Regions from separate parts of the Homo sapiens genome. Here regions 1 and 3 are each linked to region 2. Evidence: promoter capture Hi-C in 16 types of primary human blood cells and fetal thymus (Javierre and others, 2016). All regions are on one chromosome and are shown on one strand. Each heading gives the region's core, a stretch centred on a gene start or on the middle of the fragment in contact. The rest is flanking DNA. Distances are from core to core; before and after follow the strand shown.

Region 1 (3,507 bases), core at 37-2,536, 270 kb after region 2:
AATCCACAGGAGTGAACCTTGTCCTCTACCAAACTGAGTGAGAGTTTGACAGGGTGGCCTGAATTGATTCTGAAATGCACTAGGGTGGGGAGCTGGGATGTGAAAATCCAGTCGTTTATAGGTGAGGGTAGAGGGGGGTGGATGCCAGCTGGGCAACCAGTGTCTGATCATCCACCAATGCTCATGATTGAACTAGCAGAGTCAACAAGCCACAAGGGTGGCGGCTGAAGGTCAGAACGGGGTGGGTCAGCCATGGGGAAGGCAGGCTCACAAATGTGCGAGGAAGCACACAAAAAACACTATTACTATATCATTTGTTCATGATGCCAAATGATATATTTTTTCCTTTTTTTTTTTTTTTTTTTTTTGAGACAAGGTCCCACTCCAACATCCAGACTGGAGTGCAGTGGCGTGATCACGATTAACTACAACCTCAGCTTCCTGAGCTCAGGTGATTCTCCCACCTCAGCCTCTGCAATATCTAGGACTACAGGTGTGTATCACTATGCCCAGCTAATTATATATATATATGTGTTTTGTTTTTTTTTCCTGAGACAGAGTTTCGCTCTTGTTGCCCAGGCTGGAGTACAATGGCACAAGCTCGGCTCACTGCAACCTCCACTTCCCAGATTCAAGCAATTTTCCCGCCTCAGCCTCCCAAGTAACTGGCATTACAGGCACACATCACTATGCCCGACTAATTTTCTGTATTTTTAGTAGAGACGGGATTTTACCATGTTGATCAGGCTGAACATGAACTTCTGACCTCGTGATCCACCCACCTTGGCCTCCACGAACTCCTGAACTTATGACTCCTGATCCACCCACCTCGGCCTCCCAAAGTGCTGGGATTATAGGCATGAGCCACTGCGCCCAGCCAATTTTTTATACTTTTTTTGGAAGGAACAGGATCTTGCTAAGTTGCCCAGGCTGGTCTCACACTCCTGGGATCAAGCAATACTCCCACCTTGGCCTCCCAAAGTGCTGGAATTACAGGCATGAGCCACGGCCCTAGGCTGATATATTTTTTTCATTTGTCAAAAAATATAAAAATGTATCTTTTGGATTTTTGTGGCACCTAACTGTGGGCCACTGTAGCAGAAGACTCAGCTCAGGTTTCTGCATCCAGGTGGGGAAGACAAACATGTACACAGAAAACTGCAATAGGGCCGGGTGCAGTGGCTCACACCTGTAATCCCAGCACTTTGGGAGGCTGAGGCAGGCGGATCACAAGGTCAGGAGATGGAGACCATCCTGGCCAACATGGTGAAACCCTGTCTGTACTAAAAATACAAAAATTAGCTGGGTGTGGTGGCACGTGCCTGTAATCCCAGCTACTCAGGAGGCTGAGGCAGGAGAATGGCGTGAACCCAGGAGGCAGAGGTTGCAGTGCGACGAGATCATGCCACTGTATTCCAGCCTGGTGACAGAGCAAGACTCTGTCAGAAAGAAAAGAAAAGAAAGAAAGAAGGAAGGAAGGAAGGGAAGAAAGGAAGAAAGAAAGGAAGGAAAGGAAGGAAAGAAAAGGAAAGGAAAGAAAAGAAAGAAAAAGGAAAACGGCAACAGAGTGTTCTAGGCAGGATGATACAGAGGGCCTGATATGGAATGGTGGGGCTGCAATGGGGAGAGTAGCCAGTTGTGCCTGGGCTTGGAGTCGGAGTAGAGGGGCAGGTGAGTTTTCATGCAGAACATGGCACTTGAGTGGAATCTTCCAAGACGAGGAAGTAACTGCAGATGATGAAGAGTCTAGAGATTAATTCTTAGTCTAGGGAGCAGATGGGGCAGAGGAGGAACATAAAGAAACAGCATGGGCCAGGTGTGTTGACTCACGCCTGTAATCCCAGCACTTTGGGAGGCCAAGGCAGGCAGATCACCTGAGGTTGGGAGTTCGAGACCAGCCTGACCAACATGGAGAAACCCCATCTCTACTAAAAATACAAAATTAGCTGGGCGTGGTGGCGGGTGCCTATAATCCCAGCTACTCAGGAGCCTGAGGCAGAAGAATTGCTTGAATCCGGGAGGCGGAGATTGTGGTGAGCCGAGATCGCACCATTGCACTCCAGCCTGGGCAACAAGAGAGAAACTCTGTCTCAGAAAAAAAAAACAAAAAAAAACAAAAATAGAAACAGTATGACCTGTAAGAAGAGGGGTGGTTTAGCTAGTGTGGGACTCACCCCGTGTGTTAAAGTGGAAAAGAGACAGCAGAGACGGAGCTAAAGAGGGAGGGATGAGAAAGGGCTTTAGGTTTACACTTCCCCCTCGATGAGCAAGAGGCTACCACAAATCATGGCTTTGCATTTTATTTTCATTTTTTAACATTAGAAAATTCTATTAACCAGACATGGTGGCATGCGCCTGTAATCCCAGCTACTCAGGAGGCCGGGGCAGGAGAATCACTTGAACCCGGGAGGCGCATGTTGCAGCGAGCCGAGTTCACACCACTGCACTCCAGCCTGGCAACAAGAGCGAAACTCCGTCTCAAAAAAAAAAAAGAAAATTCTATTTAGATTGAAATACAGCATACAAAGTTATTGTGCCACACTAAAAATAACAGCAACATTTTCGATATGATTCCTAGATAAGCCATGAAACAGTAATTTTTGCAAACTTTTCAGTTTATGGAAGAGAATCTACAGTTATAAATCAAAACAAGGCAGCCGATACAGCCATGGGAAGATCTCTGCCTTGGAGTTTTTTTTTTTTTTTTTTTTTTTTTTGAGACAGAGTTCCGCTCTGTCACCCAGGCTGGAGTGCAGTGGCACAATCTCAGCTCACTGCAACCTCCACCTCCTGGGCCCAAGTGATCGTCCCACCTCAGCCTCCCAAGTAGCTGAGACTGTAGGGGTGCACCACCACTCCCGGCTAATTTTTGTATTTTTGGTAGAGACGGAGGTTCACCATGTTGGCCAGGCTGGTCTCAAACTCTTGACCTCAAGTGATCCACCCACCTTGGCCTCCCAAAGTGCCGGGATTATAGGAGTGAGCCACAGTGCCAGGCTGGATTTTTTTTTTTTTTAATCACAGTAGAAGCAATAGAGGGTGTGGACTGCAGAGCACCAACATAAGAGAACAGGCCAAGGAGGACTTCGGGGAGGGAGCTGGGTAGTCATGGTCAGAGAGTTGGCCAAAGAGTCTGCCTGGAGTAAGAGATTCAGAAAAATCAAGTAGAAGAATGCTGAGAAGAGAGAGGCCATCAGTGTCACTGAGGGTGAGGCTGAGGGCAGGTCAAGCGAACATGCACCGAAGAAGAATTTGGCAATTGGGAGATCACGGGGAATTTTAGAAAGAATTTTCAGCGGGGCGCGGTGGCTCATGCCTGTAATCCCAGCACTTTGGGAGCCTGAGGCAAGCAGATCACTTGAGGTCAGGAGTTTGAGACAAGCCTGACCAACATGGTAAAACCTCGTCTCTACTAAAAATACAAAAATTAGCTGGGCATGGTGGTGCATGGCTATAATCCCAGCTACTCAGGAGGCTGAGGCAGGAGAATCACTTGAACCCAGGAGG
Region 2 (3,882 bases), core at 92-2,591:
ATGAAGTGTGTATTCAGTAAATATTTCCTAGATGAATTAATGGTGAATGCATTAGAATTGTAGGAAGAGTGGTTCTCCAGACATCACTGTACAGTGGTTTGAAAGCTTTAAAGGAAAAAGGAGGAGAAACAAATGGGGTTGGGGGATTTTTCTTTAAATAAAATCTTACTGCGCTCTCCTAACAGATAGTTAGAGGTGGACACCAAGAAGACAGTACTGGAATTGGAGGTGCTCTGAAATGCCATCTGCTTCATCTCTGAATGCAAGTTCTTGAAGAATGTTTTAAAAGATGGACTACCAAGGGGTAGGAAATTTATCTAACTCACCTAAGCCATAGGAAGTTAACTAATTGTTGAGAAACATTAAACAACTTCTCCTTCCCATAAAAAGTTGAAAATTGGAAAACCGGAGTCAATAGCATTTGGACTAAGTCGGATTGGAGATTGCAATGACTGGGAAGGAGATGTGCAGAAAGGCCTCTTCTAATTCATCTGACCTCTTACCTTGAAAAGCTGTCCTCATAATCAGAAGCCACTCCTTCCTTATCCTTGGCTCACTTTATTATTTCAATCGAAGGACAATGCACAAAGGAAGAAGAGCATTTGTATTCCCTATGACCTCTAAAAATGTTTGTGGTAGAAATGACAGGTGCTGAAATACATTTCATCTTTAGAAGTTCGAATTTCCATATCCAGTACAGTGGCAAGAATAAGTGTGAATATTACTTTTTTTTTTTTTTGAGAGGAAGTCTCACTCTGTCACCCAGGTTGGAGTGCAGTGGTGTGATCTCAACTCACTGTAACCTCTGACTCCCAGGTTCAAGTGATTCTCTTGCCTCAGCCTCCTGAGTAGCTGAGATCACAGGTGCCCGCCACCACATCCAGCTAATTTTTGTATTTTTAGTAGAGACGGGGGTTTCACCATGTTGGCCAGGCTGGTCTTGAACTCCTGACCTCAGGTGGTCCACCCACCTCGGCCTCCCAAAGTGCTGGGATTACAAGAATGAGCCGCCGTGCCTGGCCAAACTTTACTTTCCGCGGTATTGTGAGGAAGGCAAAAGGTTTGAGGTGAGAAGAGATACACGAGGGAGAAAGTATTACCCAGTTTTCTTACTTGTTATTTACTCATTCCTTTTCCCTCTCAAGCAGTATACACAACACACACATGTGCACGCGCACACACACACACAGTCTGTGGGGAAAAAAATATCTCAATCTCCTCCTTATGAAGGAAGTAGGATGTTACAGAGATATTATGATGCAATGAGGACCCTATGAAGGACACTGATGACATTGTGAGGTCAGGATTTTTACTGAAATGTTTGTCTGTATGAAATGCATCAGACCTAAATCAGCTTTCCTCCCTGCTAACATCCTAGTGGCAACTCTTACTCCTACCCGCACTATGGGATTTTAAGATCAAAGGAATTAGACCTAGGGCAAAAACTGAGACAGCAGGGAGGCACTGTAACAACTGGAAAGTTTTCCAAATTGGTAAACTTGCAGTATTCTTTCTGTACAGAAGTAAAAGATCCCCTATGTCCCTATGGATATCAGGAAGGAAAAGCGTCTCAACATGGCACTTCAGATGAGCAATTTCAAAAAGGCTTTGAACAGGTTTGAAAAATTGGTTGAACAAACAGCAGCCCAGAAAAGAGATGAAAGAGCAGGCTTATTTATCCATAAAGAAGGTAAGATCAGTGATTACACGATAGTCCAATTGGGTCTGTTGGTTAGAACTGGAAAATGTTTTAAGCCATCAGAGAGAAGCATCAGAGCTTAATGTGAAAGAATGGGTGCTGAAAGGGGATGAAGACCTCAGTTCTTGTTCTTTCTCTGTCCCTAAATAACAAAGCGGACATGAGGAAGCTTTTGTTTTGTTTTGTTTTTGTTTTTGTTTTTTTTTTTTACTTCTCTGAACCGAAGTTGCTTCAATTGTAAAACTATGGGATTGGATTAAATGACGTCCAGTGTTCTTCTGTAGACGCTGCCATTTGATGGCTCACTGGTTGACCTGGGATGCTCAGTAATGTATAGCACTGCTTTTTCTTAGCCTAAAGATATCATGAGACCATAAAGACTTTCATAAGAAGTGCAGCTTCCTGCCTCACCATGATTCCATTGTCTTGGCCACTCTCCATATCTCTAGGCAGGAATGATCTTGAGGATGCAAGCTAAGGAGAATATGGTGGACAGTGGTCTTACAGGAGGATTTGCAGCAGAGATGCCAGTGCATAGACAAGATTCAAGGGGAGTGGTGTAGTGTACAGCTTTGGCGTATTGAGGACAGCTGTGAAAAATAAAGCTACATGGCAGAGTGAAAGACTAACAGAACAAACCCTGCTGTTGCAATGAAAGGAGCAGAGCCCATATAATTGCTAAAGGGATAGTATAGCCAGCCTCTGAGTGTGCCAGGCTGCATAGTAATTTGTAAGTGAAAATCTTGACTTTGGGTGTTCAAACCCAAGCTGGTATTAATTGAATAGTATTTAATAATTTATAGTCATGTTAATCAATGTCATTATGTTCATTTTATTTGTGGAAAAAATGGGAGCTGAAGATAAATCATTTGCCCAAGTTACCCAAATTCTTTTCTTTTCTTTTCTTTTTTTTTTTTTTTCTGAGACGGAGTTTCATTCCTATTGCCCAGGCTGGAGTGAAATGGTGCGATCTCGGCTCTCTGCAACCTCTGCCTCCCAGGTTCAAGTGATTCTCCTGCCTCAGCCTCCCAAGTAGCTGGGATTACAGGCACCCACCACCACACCCGGCTAATTTTTTGTATTTTTAGTAGAGACGGGGTTTCACCATGTTGGCCAGGCTGGTCTTGAACTCTTGACCTCAGGTGATCCACCTGCCATGGCCTCCCAAAGTGCTGGGATTACAGGTGTGAGCCACCGTGCCCGGCCAAAGTCACCCAACTTCTAAGTGTTAAAGCTAAGACTTGGACCTTTTGGATATGCTTTTTCGGTGATTGGGAACTTGACTGGGCCTTCTAAACTACTCAACAAAACTTGCATTTTTTCCTAGTCAGTTTGTTTTACCTCTCTCTAATTGGTTTTTCAAACCCTTGACACTTTTTCTGAATTCTCTATGGGATGTCTGCTTCTCTCAGCCAAGTTTTCTACGTCATAAAAGAAAGCAAGGTCAAAAGACAAGAATTCTCTCAAACCCCCCTTTTCCACTTCTGAATCACTGAAAGCAGCAGCTGTCCTTTCTATTTCTCCTCCCCTTCAAAGCTATCAGTTTGCTGCAGCAGCTTCAAAATCTCCTTTTCTACTGGATTTGTCCTCTCAGTCTAAAAATATACTCAAGCATCATGACCTTGACTTTCTCTTTTCTTTAAGCTACCACTGTATGCCTCTCCTTTCCTTCTCCACTGAATTTCCTGACAATATCACCACTTAACTTTCAATCTACTCAGGTCTGGCTTCTCTGATCACTTTGCTGAAAATGCTCTAACCAAGCTATGTGATAAGCTAATATAGTTGCCAAATTCAATAAATTGTTTTCATTTTCCAGCCTACTTGGCCATTGCACTAGATTAACACTGTTAGCTGCCTCTGCTTCAAGAAACTTCCTTATCCTGCGTCTTTCATCACATCATTCTTATTTTTCCCATCTCAATTCTTTCTTTGCTTCTTTTTCTCCTTGAGCTTTGCCTACTGTGTTCTCTCTCAGTCTTAGAGCATAGCTACCATCTAACTAGTTTCCTAAGCCAGATATCTTGGTATAGGCTGTATAGGCTGAGCATCCCTGATCCCAAAATCCAAAATCTAAAATGCTCCAAAATTCAAAACTTTTTGAGAGCTGACATGAGATAGGGGCATATTAATATTTGCTTTCTGATGATTCAATGCATACAAACTTTGTTTCATGCACAGAA
Region 3 (3,704 bases), core at 717-3,216, 360 kb after region 2:
CCTTTCATTTACTTTCTGGAAAGCATCAATAACTCCCGGTAATAGCTATGTGACTCTGTAGTCCTTATAATTACTTTTTCTTTAATTCTCAAGCCGCCAGTGACTTCCTTCCACCATTTACCACCTAGTTCACCGACACATCCACAGCTGGGCGATCAGTGTTTCAGTTCTGGGCAAGGCATCCGGGCATCCTAACTCTGTATCCCCCACAGTCTTCACCATCATTGTCATTATCTTCATTTGTTGAATTTTATCATGTACAATCATTGGGCTAAGGGTGGAAACTAATCTTTATGGAGCACATACACATGTTAAGTATTGAGATATGATTATTCCACTTTCTTATTTAATCTTTCTGGAAAAGAAAAAGACACCTGAAACTCAGAGAGTTGAAATAATTTGCTCAAGATCACTCAGTTGGTGAGATTTGAGTCTATGACTTTATGCCACTGAACCCCGTTATGACATAATGCTTTCCATTCTAGAATTTATTTTTATTTCTATTATTTATTTATTTTATTTATTATTATTATTTCTTGAGATGTAGTCTTGCTCTGTCACCCAGGCTGGAGTGCAGTGGCATGATCTCGGCTCACTGCAACCTCCGCCTCCTGGGTTCAAGCAATTCTCCTGCCTCAGCCTCCCAAGTAGCTGGGGTTATAGGTGCCTGCCACCACACCCGGCTAATTTTTGTATTTTTAGTAGAGACAGGGTTTCACCATGTTGGCCAGGCTGGTCCCGAACTACTGACCTCAGGTGATCCGCCCTCCTCGGCCTCCCAAAGTGCTGGGATTACAGGCATGAGCCACCGTACCTGGCCTCTGTTCTAGAATTTTTAAAGTTGGCTTAAAATAGAACCATCACCATCATAAGGAAAATAGTTCCTGAAACATTCCCCTAGCAGCTCCAGGGTTAGTGCTCTACATGCACAAAACCTCTATTCTTTATGCTGAATGGACCCCCAACTTCTTATTAAAACAGAATATGTGCCTAAGATTCCCCCAAAGTACAAACAACCCAGCTCCCAACCACTTTTCTCACAGGTACACCACTGGAAATGAAGGCCAAGTGGCCCAGACTGTGGCCGGACAGGCTGTTTCCAGGTCCTTGCCTGCCAGAAGGAATGAGCTGCGGCCTTTTTCCCAGCTCCCGCCATCCACTGCCAGAAAGCCCAGCTTCTCCCGCTCTGTGACTCAGCCTTGCAGGTGTTTGCGTCCCACTCCCACAGCACAACCCAGGATGAGGAATGATGCACTCACATCAGGAGGCATTAAGGGCTTAGTAATCCCTTAGACACAGGAAAGTAGAAAAAGGGGGGAAAATATCTAATGTGTTGGGTGAAGGAGTCTGGAAGCTGGCTGGGGAAGGACTGCAGGCTTTCCTAGAAGTAGCCAGCTGTCAAATTGCTTTTTTCAAGAGCCAGAGGCATTTCTTGTTTTCAGCATCTGTGGTGCTCAGGATCTGCCTGGACCTGGAGGAAACTGGGCATTAGTCCTGTTCTCTACTAGGAAACCCACTTCTAGCACCTTTAGAGGTTGGAGAAGGATGCAACAGTGACCTCTCACAAGAGTCTGCTGCTCTGAAGCCCTGGGAATGTATCAGCTTTGGCTACAGCCTTAATGCAAGCTGAGTCAGACATGTCTCAGCTCCCTGATTCTGGGAGTTTCTTTCTTGCTAGTGAACTTCTGCTTTCTATCTGTAAAAATGAAGACAAGTTATTGTCCAGCCTGGGCAGCATAGCAAGGTCTCATCTCTTAAAAAAATGGAGACAATTATTTTGGCTTCACAACAATATTAATTCTTTTTTTTTTTTTTTTTTGAGACAGAGTCTTGCTCTGTCATCCAGGCTGGATTGCAATGGCACAATCTCGGCTCACTGCAACCTCCACTGCCCGGGTTCAAGCGATTCTCCTGCTGCAGCCCCCCAAGTAGCTGGGATTACAGGTGTGTGCCACCACGTCCAGCTAATTTTTGTATTTTTAGTAGAGATGGGGTTTTGCCATGTTGGCCAGGCTGGTCTCAAACTCCTGACCTCAGGTGATCCACCTGCCTCGGCCTCCCAAGGATTACAGACGCGAGACACGGCTCCCGGCAACAATATTCATTCATTCTTAATTCCCCAATATTTATCGTATCTAACTTGTGATAGGTGTACTAGTATGTTATAGGGATACAACAGAAAAGTAAAAACTAGGCCGGACCCAGTGGCTCATGCCTGTAATACCAGCACTTTAGGAGGCCAAGGCGGGTGGATCACTGAGTTTGGGAGTTCGAGGCCAGCCTGGCCAACATGGTGAAACCCCCATCTCTACTAAAAAAATATAAAAATTAGCCGGGCATGGTGGCAGGCACCTGTAATCCTGACTACTCGGGAGGCAGAGGCAGGAGAATTGCTTGAACCTGGGGGGCAGAGGTTGCAGTGAGCCGAGATCGCACATTGCACTCCAGCCTGGGTGACAAGAGCGAAACTCCGTCTTAAAAAAAAAAAAAACCCAACAGCATCTCTTACATCAAGCAGGGAGCCTACAGCTGAGTGGGGCAGCAGATAATGACCAAAGGAACTCAACTGTGCTACATGTGATGAAGAGGGGCCCGTGGTGCTGGGAGAGAATTTCTTAGGGAACCTGACTTAGTTGATGTAGAGGAAGGTCAAGGAAGTTTTCCTAAAATGATATTTGAGGTCATATGGTGTTAACCAGGCAAAGCAAGGCAATGGCATGAGGTGGGAAGAGGGGGTAGGGCAGTATTTGAGGCAATGGTAATAGCTTTGGAAAGAGGGGATATGGTTTGTTTAAGAAAGTGCTAGAAGCCAATGTGCTGGCATGTGCCTGTAGTCTCAACTACTCAGGAGGCCAAGGTGGGATGATTGCCTGAACCCAGGAGTTTAAAGCCAGCCTAGACAATGTAGGCCCCATCTCTTAAAGCGGAAAAAAAAAAAGAGAGAGAGAGAGAGTGAAGAGAAGAAAGTACTGGAGGCCACTGTGGCTGGGACCTCCAGGAGGAAAGCCATGTGGAATGGGGCTGAAGTCTCAGGGGCCCTACAGTGTGATTTTTATTGTAAAGTCAATGCAAACCACTGAAACCACCTAAACAGAGAAGAATGGATTCAATTTGCAGTTTGAAAAACGTGTTCGGGTAGGACTGCAGAGAATAGACTGGAGGTGGGGCTATTGTCATTGTTTAGTGGAGAAAAGTTGGAAGTTTGGCTTAAGAAGATCAACGGCATAGAATGAAATAACTCTTAGTTTATGGCTTAAGCAACTGGAGTTCATGTTGAAGAGAGCTGAAGACATGGGTGTTGCTGAGATGCCTGGGGAGAAAATATCTAGTAAGAAAAGAGGGGAGCTAGGTCGGAGCCTAGAGCAATTCTAATCATCAAAGACGGTAGAGAAGAGGCTGAGCCTGCCAATGAGACACAAGTGAATTAATGAGATGGGGTGAAACCAGAGACTGTGTGATGGAAGCAAGGTGTATGCCTCAAAGGAGGGACTGTCACTCAAATCTTGCTGAGGACTGAAAAAGAGGGAAAATGCTTTTTTTTTTTTTCTCCCCAGACAGGGTCTTGCTCTGTTGCTCAGGCTGGACTGCAGTGGCATGATCACAGCTCACTGCAACCTCAACTTCCCAGGCTCCAGTGATCCTCCCGACTCAGCCTCCCACGTAATTGGGACCAAAGTTGCACACCAGCACGCCCGGCCAACTTT

The links. Contacts are between HindIII fragments. The CHiCAGO score rates a contact against its expected background, and 5 or more counts as called.
Region 1: a fragment that was not itself captured here is called in contact with the fragment with the promoter of WDR64 in region 2 in 5 of 17 cell types (activated CD4 T cells, naive CD8 T cells, naive CD4 T cells and 2 more); the score reaches 6.4 in activated CD4 T cells.
Region 3: a fragment that was not itself captured here is called in contact with the fragment with the promoter of WDR64 in region 2 in 5 of 17 cell types (total B cells, total CD4 T cells, monocytes and 2 more); the score reaches 7.4 in total B cells.

What each region holds. Positions count from the first base shown.
Region 1 is chr1:241,919,735-241,923,241 of GRCh38, forward strand. No RefSeq gene overlaps it. Among named protein-coding and RNA genes, the nearest start is that of BECN2, 36 kb to the right of the region's middle. The HindIII fragment of the contact is 7,553 bases long and covers 1-3,507 here.
Region 2 is chr1:241,650,940-241,654,821 of GRCh38, forward strand. WDR64 (WD repeat domain 64) reads left to right here and starts at 1,342. Exons shown (of 28, transcript NM_001367482.1): 1 at 1,342-1,690. The coding sequence starts at 1,546. The HindIII fragment of the contact is 1,763 bases long and covers 104-1,866 here.
Region 3 is chr1:242,010,881-242,014,584 of GRCh38, forward strand. No RefSeq gene overlaps it. Among named protein-coding and RNA genes, the nearest start is that of MAP1LC3C, 14 kb to the left of the region's middle. The HindIII fragment of the contact is 7,750 bases long and covers 1-3,704 here.